2 separate regions of the Homo sapiens genome follow, and region 1 is linked to region 2. Evidence: promoter capture Hi-C in 16 types of primary human blood cells and fetal thymus (Javierre and others, 2016). All regions are on one chromosome and are shown on one strand. Each heading gives the region's core, a stretch centred on a gene start or on the middle of the fragment in contact. The rest is flanking DNA. Distances are from core to core; before and after follow the strand shown. Region 1 overlaps UBA5 (ubiquitin like modifier activating enzyme 5). Region 2 holds the start of MRPL3 (mitochondrial ribosomal protein L3).

Region 1 (5,021 bases), core at 2,522-5,021, 1.2 Mb before region 2:
TTGCCGACATCTCACTACCTCGAAAATCAAATTTAAATGAAGTATCCAGGAGTAGCCTAAAGAATGAGTGTAATCTGGATGGATTTTAGTCTAAATTTATGCCTTGCTCTTCAGTAAAGTATAGTAACTCCAGATATATGTTCCACAGATGCAATAATTTCTGTTCCTTGTTCGGTGCAGAATATAATTTATACTTCCTGAAATCAACTTTGTCTATTCATGAAAATAGCTGCTTTTTATTTGCCTTTGTCTCACTTTGAATATATATGATCCACAGGTTACAGACTTTTCCAATAACTACATTTCAACTTGTACTTCATCAGCAAACATTTGAGAGGATGTTATTTCATAGGTTAACTATTTTGAATTCATTGTTGATCAAGTTAGTAGTAGTGGGCAATTTTCTTATAGAAAGCAATTCCAAACATAATGAGCAGATGCTTGCCAGCTCTAATCAATAAGCTGTATGCCTTGTCCTTCTCCCTGTATCTGAGGATCATATACTACTTTATTGTCCATGTCCTCATGCAACAGACACAAGGGATTACTGGAAAGAAAAAGATTACAGGATCAGATTTGTCCTTCCCCCACTCCAAAAGGCCAAAACATTTCAACAGCTATGTTTTCAAGTAAGATTTATATCCTACAATATCCTTTGAGGTTTTCTTACTAGAATGAAACACATTTTAGGAGAGTTAATGATTTCGTTGGAGCGGGGAGAAACAGGCAAGTCACAGGATTTTCAAAAAGTATAACAATTCAGGTAAGAATATACATTAATTAATGTTGCCCTAAGTTTTATCAGTTAAAATTTTTTTTTAATTTCAAGGGAAGAGGCTTTAACATGAGAAATACAATATATCCCAGTCCATTATCTACATATTCTTCATTTTGGCCATGAGGTCTTCCAAGCTTTCACCAGAATCTTCCACTGTTAACTCAGTGACAGAATCTTCTTGCTATTGACAAATAAGGGAAATACAGTGAAAAAAGAACCATATAGAATTCTTGATGCTTAGGAATATATAATCAGCAAGTTTTGACCATGCTCAACAAGGTTATAAAGTAAATTTTCTTTAACAACTATCTTCTAATTTTTAGAAGAAAGACAGAGTCTTTTACATTCCTCACCAGTCTTTTGATTTACAAGGCAGTAATTTCAATATTCTTGACAGCTCTAGCTTTTTAAACGACATCGTAGCTAAAACTACCGATAAACAAAAATGAGATCTTCATTTAATCAAAATCTACTATACTTGGTTCATTAATGAGTGAACAAAACCATTTTATTCTATGTTTTAAAAGTTTAAGCTATAAATATTTGCATATTAACACTGCATACCTCTCTCTCACATCTTAATGCCTATAGCATAAAATATCTAAAACAGGAAATACTTCATTGGCATTACAAATTAGAATGAAGATGATAAATATTTTATATGATATTTACATATGGGTAAATCATATTTTTGAAGTACCTTTTTTGGAATTGTGTATGCCACTGTAATTCCTTCAGGTAAGTCTGGAACTGGACCTGAAAAATTTTTCAGTTCCTCTTCTGAAACCTCAGATACCAGCTCAATACCTGTAAATTTGATCCTATGTCAGTTTTTAAGGAATTTAATAAGCAATAATTATTCAATTTGTATAATCTTATTAGATTTGCTACCATAAAAGGTTTTGTTTTATACTGCCATTTCAATTTATAAAAGAATACCTACCCCATTCATTATCTTCATGGATTATCTCTTCCTCTTCTTGTATAACCTCTTGTTTAGGCAGTGCTGCTACCTTTTTCTGTAGAAATCAAACAGCATCAAAGTGTTCTTACTCATTCTCAGTTCTCTAAAGCATTAATCAAGAATTCAGACAGGCTTTTTATCTTACCAAAAGCAAGAAAGAACATTCATTTTTGAAGTATGGTGAATAAATTAACCATTTATCTTGTATTCCAAATCTGTTTATGTATTGTCCTATTCAATATGATCCCTCATGCATTCTAACAGATTGTCATATACCTTATATTCCTCCTGCTGCTTCCTGCAATTTCTGTCATCACACTGAGGATTTGGCTTCATGGACATAGTAGGAAAAAAATCCTGCATTGCATTGTATCCAAGGTAAAAACTAACAGTACCAAAATTTAACAGAAACCTAGAAAAATCAAAATAGACTTAAATAAAGAAATTTAAAACATGAAAAATACTAGAACACCTAAATTTTTTAAAAATAACGTTGAAATAGGTAATTATATATTTTTTTTAACCAGAAAACAGAAATCTGCATCCAGAAAACAGAAATTTTATCTTATTTACAGTGCCTGGCTCATAGTAGATACTTCAGTGTTTATTGAATGAAGGAAAGAAAAGATTACTCCATTTCATCAACTGTAGAACACACTATTTTTTTGAACCTCTAATAAAGATAAAATGCTGGCAGCTAAACAATTACACGTCAACAACTTCAAGAAGCATGCTGATTTCAGAGAAGCTAAAATGTGGGAGAAGTGTATTTTTTAAATCCCTGAGATAATTAAGAAAGCTACTTAATTTTAACATTTTGTATGTAACTTACTATAAAATGCACAATCTTAAATGTATAGCTCAATAAAATTTTGTATGAGCCTTTCATGTAACCATCACCAGATCAAGATACAGAACATTTTCAGCATCCCATGTGCCTCCAGCTCCCTCCTGCCCTCTTCCCAGTCAAATCTGATACTTTTTACTCTGTTGCCCAGGCTGGAGTAAGGTGGCGTGATCATGGCTCACTGTAGCCTCGCCCTCCCAGGCTCAAGCAATCCCATCTCAGCCTCCCAAGTAGCTGCGACTACAGGCAAGCACCACCACGCTTGGCTAATTTTTGTATTTTTTTTTTGTAAAGATGGGGCTTTGCCATGTTGCCCAAGCTGGTCTCAAATTCCTGGGCTCAAGCAATCCGCCTGCCTTGGCCTCCCAAATTGTTGGGATTACAGGCGTGAGCCACTGCACCCGGCCAATCTGATGTCTTTTATTAGGTTGGCGCAAAAGTAATTGCAGTTTTTGTTAAAAGTAATGGCAAAATCCACAATTACCTTTGCACTAACATAATAAAAGCTTCTATACAGAGAAAATCACATAAAAAAGATAAATGACAAAAATATTTGCAAATACACATTCTTAATATACAAGACAAAAAAGAGCAACAACTATTAGCAGATAATTCACAGAAGAATGTAAGTGTTCAACCTTTTTCACAAATAAAAAGAAAAATTAAATGCCTGTTTTTTACCCACCAGAATGACAGATTACAGAGTTTGATGATACTCAAAGTTATCAAAGGTATGGGTGAACCAGGTACTCCTAAACTATGATACAAATGTATAATCCTTTTGCAGGAGAAATTTAGTAAATATTTCGTAAATTCAGAAATTCTACTTTAAAAAATGTGTACTATAGGCCGTGTGCAGTGGCTCATGCCTGTAACTCCTAGCACTTTAGAAGGTCGATATGGGCAGACTGCTCGAGCCCAGGAGTTCAAGACCAGCCTGGAAAACAAGGAGACTTTGTTTCTACAAAAAATACAAAAACATTAGCTGGGCGTGGTGGTGGGTGCTTGTAGTCACAGCTACCTGGGAGGCTGAGGTAGGAGGATCACTTGAACCTGGAAGACTGCAGTTAGCCGAGATTGTGCCTTTGTGCCTCTGCACTCCAGCCTGGGTGACAGAGTGAAACCCTGTTTAAAAAAAAAAAAAAAAGTACTATAGAAAACTCTAGGCTGGGCACAGTGGCTCACGCCTGTAATCCCAACACTTTGGGAGGCTGAGGTGGGCAGATTACTTGAGCTCAGGAGTTCAAGAACAGCCTGAGCAACATGGTGAAACCTTGTCTCTACAAAAAATACAAAAATTAGCCAGGCATTGTGGCATACACTCGTACTTCCAACTACTTGGAAGGCTGAGGTGGGAGGATCACTTGAGCTCAGGAGGTTGAGGCTGCAGTGAGCCATGACTGAGCCACTGAACTTCAGCTTGGGCAACACAGTGAGACCTTGTCTCCAAAAAAACAAAAAGAAGAGTGATCAATCTAGTATTCAAAGATATATACAAGATGTAGCCTATAGCATTGTTAATAAAAAAGAAAAGAATTAAGTAGCCTAAATGACCATCAATAGAGGGGCTAGCTAAATAGGACACATCCTTAAGGGAATACTTTGTTAGCCATGATTCTTTTCTCCTTTTTTGTATCATACTATAAAATGTTTTGTTTAGACAGGGCCTACTACTGTCTAAACAGGCTATTTGCTCTTATATGAAATAGCCCTAGACCATTACTTTGAGAGTTTATATGTATGCTTTTTTCAATTTCTTTGCTCGCAACTGACACTTCTTATTGATTGGTACCTCCTTGTGTCTTGTTGCAGTTTGTTCTTATTATATTGGAGGCTTAGGGAATACAACTAAGCTTATTAAAGTTGTAAAATGAGGGAAAATAAATAGCCTGAATTAGAGAACACCTAAAGGGGCTCTGCTTTTAATAAAGTATGAGTTGATTCATAAACTGTGACATAAATTTCAGCAGCAAAGAAATCTTTTTCCTTCTTTTTAGCTACAGTTTAGATAGTACAGTTGCTGGATATTTGTTTTTGGATAGCAGAGGTATCTAAAAGCAGATTTCAAGAATCTTTTTTAAGTACTGTTAATGTGTTTTATATTAACACTAATATAAATGTTAACATTTTATGTAAATGTAAAATTTACAGTAACACTAATGTTTAATTACATTAACAATAATTACTGTTTAGTCACATTGGTTTATTTTTGGTAAGACTTAAATCAAGATAGTAGAAACAAGTGTGTTTAAGTCTCCATCCACTGGACAGACTTGCAAAGATTTAAATCATTCAGTTAATGTTTCATAAATAAATATGCCACTACCATTGTATCATTTAATAAAAGCTATTCCAAATGCAGGGAGTAACTGACATTCACATATATTCACGTATGAATATGCACACATGTATTATATGTAATATTTAATATA
Region 2 (4,603 bases), core at 2,104-4,603:
CAGCCTTTCAAATTTTCTATTTCAGCCAGCAATGAAATCTTAAAGTTCAAAAATCTCTTAAAGTTTATTTTATCTATATCCCCATTGAATGCTTGACTCACTTTCATAACATCTTTACTGATTTTAAAATATGCTAGATTCTCACAACTTGAGAAAAATGGAGAAAAAAAAGGATAACTTAGTAAATCCAAACTCATTGTTTAAAAGATTTCTAATTTCAAATATAAGGTATGTTATAAACTAAGAGACAGCATAAATGAATACTAAAGTGGAAATTACCCAACACAAAATTTACCATCTTGCAATAATCCAACTATACAGGATATATCACAAACATTATAAGAGCTAATGGTAGAGCCTAATGGCAGGAACACATATAAAAGATTATTTCCAGTGAACTCTTGCTTTGAAATCTGCTCCTTCTATGATGATTCTCTTGTATTGAACATGGCTTTAGTAATTCAAAAATGAATCTATTCCTAATGTTTTATTTAATAAGAGAAGGTTTATGAGATCATCTGTTGGTCTGAATTAGCGGAGTAAGAGTTATAGAACTGTACCACTAAAAAGAGAAAGTGCAAGTTATCTTCGTTCCAATAAGGAATTGAAATCTTAGAGAGGCAAAATGGCATTACAGTTTCAGGGTCTAAGGCAGTGTCTGAAGGATGACATCAGAAATAACAGGAAGCTCTAGGTCAGTGCCTGACTGCCCTAGAAAAGCCTAGGCTGGGTCCCTTGACAACTGGGCCTAGTAGCTGTCAGCAGCATATTACAGTGACTAAATCAAGTATGACACCACTCAGCCCTGGCTGGCAATCAGGAGACACATTTTTTACGACAGCAGACAAACCATGTTTTACTTTGATTCAGTTCAGCGGTGGTGCCTGCTGTCAAGGTCCTCCTTATGGACTAGGAGATATTTGGTACTATGGGAAAAGGTTAGACCAAATGGCTACCTCTTCAATCCTCACTGACCACTGCGTGTGATTACTTACCGATTTTCCTCTTTAGCCTTAAAGAAATTCCAAGGCAAGAGTAGTGACATATTTGTCATAGAGAGCCAAAGAAACAAAATGTCTAAAAGCATAAGCTCTATCTATGGTCACAGTCTTTGGCTCTACCAGTTAATAGCTGGGTGATTTTATTTAAGTTATGTAATCTCTGTATGCCTATTTTCTTAACTGTAAGATCCAGATAATTATACTATTGTCACAGCAGATTGTCATAACAATCAAGTGAGAAAATACACTGAGAGAGTAAAAATGAATACTATTAGTAACTGGACTGCAGTGTTTATAGCAGAACATCAATACAATATTTCTTTTTTTTTTTTTTGAGACGGAGTCTTGCTCTGTCACCCAGGCTGGAGTGCAGTGGCTCAATCTCGCTCACTGCAAGCTGCGCCTCCCAGGTTCACACCATTCTCCTGCCTCAGCCTCCTGAGTAGCTGGGACTACAGGCACCCGCCACTACGCCCGGCTAATTTTTTTTTGTATTTTTAGTAGAGAAGGGGTTTCACCATGTCAGCCAGGATGGTCTCAATCTCCTGACCTCGTGATCCACCCGCCTTGGCATCCCAAAGTGCTGAGCCACCACGCCCAGCCCATCATTACAATATTTCTTACAGACCGTACTGTAGGCCACACCACTGCAGCAAAATGACTAACAGTTCCTTATTCTGAGTGATTCCTGCTTTCTTATGAACATCATGCCCACTTCCTCTCTGTTCTTCCTGTCTCTAGAACAAAGACTATCAAGATATCCAATTGCTGAACTGTCCTTTCTTCTTGACAGCACCCATTCTAAAACAAGTTCCTGCTTCTCTGATGCCACTTTAAAATCACTCAGCCTTAAGTCCAAATTTCATTTCAAGCCCCTCCCAGGTCACTCTTTTGGAAACATCCTCAGACATATGCTGTCTTTTGCTGCATCAAGCTAATTAAACTTGACTTTGTATGAGTTCACGTTTTCTTCTAGTAGCCTTGGCTTATGGGCTTCCACAATGCTGAGCACATACTCTAGCACACTATATGGATAAGAAATGTTAGTTATTGGCAGTAGTACAGAAATCTTCTTATTCTCAACTTCTTGCATGTAGCACACCTCAAAACATGTTTGTTCAATGAAGAGCCATCCTTAAGTATCTGGGAAGCCAGGCAGCATGGCTAGAATGAAGAGATGTAGTTTTTCCTTCAAGGTCCAAAGTATTATTGAAAAGTGTCTAAGGTAACTGCAACAGCAATGAGTGGAATGAATGGACAAGCAAAGCAAAGATTTTTTAGCCCACTAAAGTCCAAGTAATGGCCAGGAATTGACCATTGTCTGGACCTGTTAAACCAAGATAGCCAGATCTCTAGTAAAAAGAGAAGGTTGAAATAGCTACACTTTAAAGTTCTTATTTCCAAATTTCTACAAACAGTAATCTGACAAATAAGGGAATTAGTAGAAGAATAAATGTCCTAGTCACATACATGGTTATTAGGCTAGATCTGGAACCCAAGACAGGGGATTTTTTGTGCAGGTGTATTAGCTATCTATTATTGCATAACAAATTACCCTAAAGCTTAATGACTCAAAAAAACGGTAATCATTTATTTTCTCTGGCAATTTCTCCTAGTCAGTAATTCATGAGCGGCCTGGCTGGGAGATTCAGGCTTAACGTCTCCATGAGTTGCAGCCGAGGACTGGTGGATCCACTTCCTAGGTGGCTCAGTCATGACTGGCTAGTTGATTCCTCTTTATATGTTCCTCCCTGCAGAGCTGTTTGAGTGTCTGCAGGAAATGAAGGCTAGCTTTCTCCACAGGGAGCAATCCAAGAGACAAAAACTGAAGTAACAATATGTTTTATGATCCAGCCCTAGAAGGCATACATCATTTCTATGGGTGTAGTCTATTGATAACACATGCCAACCCTGTTTCAGTGCCAACTCTGCTCCTCTGCCAGATGTGTTGTTTTGGACCAGCACCTAAATTCTGAGTCAGTTTCCTCATTTATAATAGAAAAATAAATACTTCCTTTCAGGACCGTTTTTTATGATTAACAAATATAGGATTATGAAGCGCTGCTTAGCATAATGCATTGCCTCACAACGGGCACTATTTAGAAGTGTCTTCATTTTCCTTAGCGTCCTCAGGAAGTCTGTCCTTATTCTTCTAAAGTTTAAACTCTGAACATCCCTTTTATTTTACCCCTGGAGAGGCGAGTCAGTCCCTTCCCACCCCTACCTACTCCAACTCACATCCAAAGTAGGACAACGGTGGAAGCAGAACTATAGTTTCCGGGGAGCGACTCGAGTGCCCGGAGTTCATTGTAAAACGCACCGGAAGTGGGTCCGGCGGCTTTCTTTCCGTCGCAGAGAGCATCGGCCGGCGACCGTTCCGGCGGCCATTGCGAAAACTTCCCCACGGCTACTGCGTCCACGTGGCGGTGGCGTGGGGACTCCCTGAAAGCAGAGCGGCAGGGCGCCCGGAAGTCGTGAGTCGAGTCTTCCCGGGCTAATCCATGCCGGGTTGGAGGCTGCTGACGCAGGTCGGCGCCCAGGTGCTGGGTCGACTCGGGGACGGCCTGGGTGCTGCCCTGGGCCCGGGGAACAGGTAGGAAGGTGTGAGGGTGTCCTACCTGCACAGTTGCGTCCTGAAGCAGTGGAATGGCCTGGTGCAGTTGGGCCTCCCCTGGGTGGAGGAGGAAGGGGCTCTGTTGAGACGTGGGACACAGAAGAATAAGGGCCGTTAACCTAAGGAAGCACGTTCTAAGGGGATTGAAGTGGTGATTTTTAAAAAACGCTTATGAGCCAGCCACTAGCAGCGAACGCTATTAACAGCAATCATATCTTACAATTAGTGAGCGTTTGCCAGGTACTAAGCGCTCTGCTAAGTGTATTAGGTGCCTTATGTAGCCTCACGGGAGCAAACTGCTATCATAAGGTTTACAGATAAAACTGAAGGTTAGGGAGGTGAGTTAATTTGCCCAAAGTCACTCAACTAATAAGTGGAAAATTAGGAATCTAGCCTGAATTTATCTGACTACAAAAGGAGAGTAGACTGCAGAAAGCTTTACTTCTGTTCTGACCCTCCATGCAAGAATTACACCCCTTCTTCCTGACCTCCGCCCACTAAGGTCTTTCTTGGTATGTTCACCTGTTCAGAGGTCATGCCTTTTGTGGATCTTTTAACTTTGCACACCCAGTTTCTTCACTTCTCTGAACCTAGGCCATGTCATTGCAGGGAGGAGGTGAGCTTGTTAGACAAAGATCAACATGCCACCTTCTGCCACCTCCACTGAATGTAAAACTATTAAGGTACACTTCCAAATGGGTTAGTGGCTTTTCATGTCTATAGGTAGGACTGTTTTTTGGGGAATATGTTTATCTGCGAGGAGAAGATGAATTTTTTTCTCCAGGGTAACGACTAACAGTTTAAATGTGAGCCTTATCCGAAGGAATGTGGGGAGTGAGGAAAAGGTTGGAGACCTGAAAAAAAGGTATACAGAATCCAAGCCCTTTCCCAAGGCCCTGACTACACTTTCCAATTTGTGACTTCCCTTTTCTATATTAAGTGGAGGAAGTTTTTAAATTGTGGTTTGGTTTTATTTATTTTTTCTTTT

The links. Contacts are between HindIII fragments. The CHiCAGO score rates a contact against its expected background, and 5 or more counts as called.
Region 1: a fragment that was not itself captured here is called in contact with the fragment with the promoter of MRPL3 in region 2 in 1 of 17 cell types (total CD8 T cells); the score reaches 5.1 in total CD8 T cells.

Annotation. Positions count from the first base shown.
Region 1 is chr3:132,672,381-132,677,401 of GRCh38, reverse strand. It overlaps UBA5 (ubiquitin like modifier activating enzyme 5), which reads right to left. Exons shown (of 12, transcript NM_024818.6): 9 at 2,019-2,154; 10 at 1,722-1,797; 11 at 1,479-1,585; 12 at 1-959. The coding sequence ends at 876. The region is part of intron 26 of NPHP3-ACAD11 (NPHP3-ACAD11 readthrough (NMD candidate)); the gene reads left to right. Among named protein-coding and RNA genes, the nearest start is that of UBA5, 15 kb to the right of the region's middle. The HindIII fragment of the contact is 1,347 bases long and covers 3,098-4,444 here.
Region 2 is chr3:131,501,721-131,506,323 of GRCh38, reverse strand. It overlaps MRPL3 (mitochondrial ribosomal protein L3), which reads left to right and starts at 3,353. Exons shown (of 10, transcript NM_007208.4): 1 at 3,353-3,594. The coding sequence starts at 3,503. LOC105374114 (a long non-coding RNA gene) reads right to left here and starts at 3,725. Exons shown (of 3, transcript NR_189111.1): 1 at 3,620-3,725. RefSeq lists enhancers at 3,455-3,524, 3,031-3,717. The HindIII fragment of the contact is 1,488 bases long and covers 2,566-4,053 here.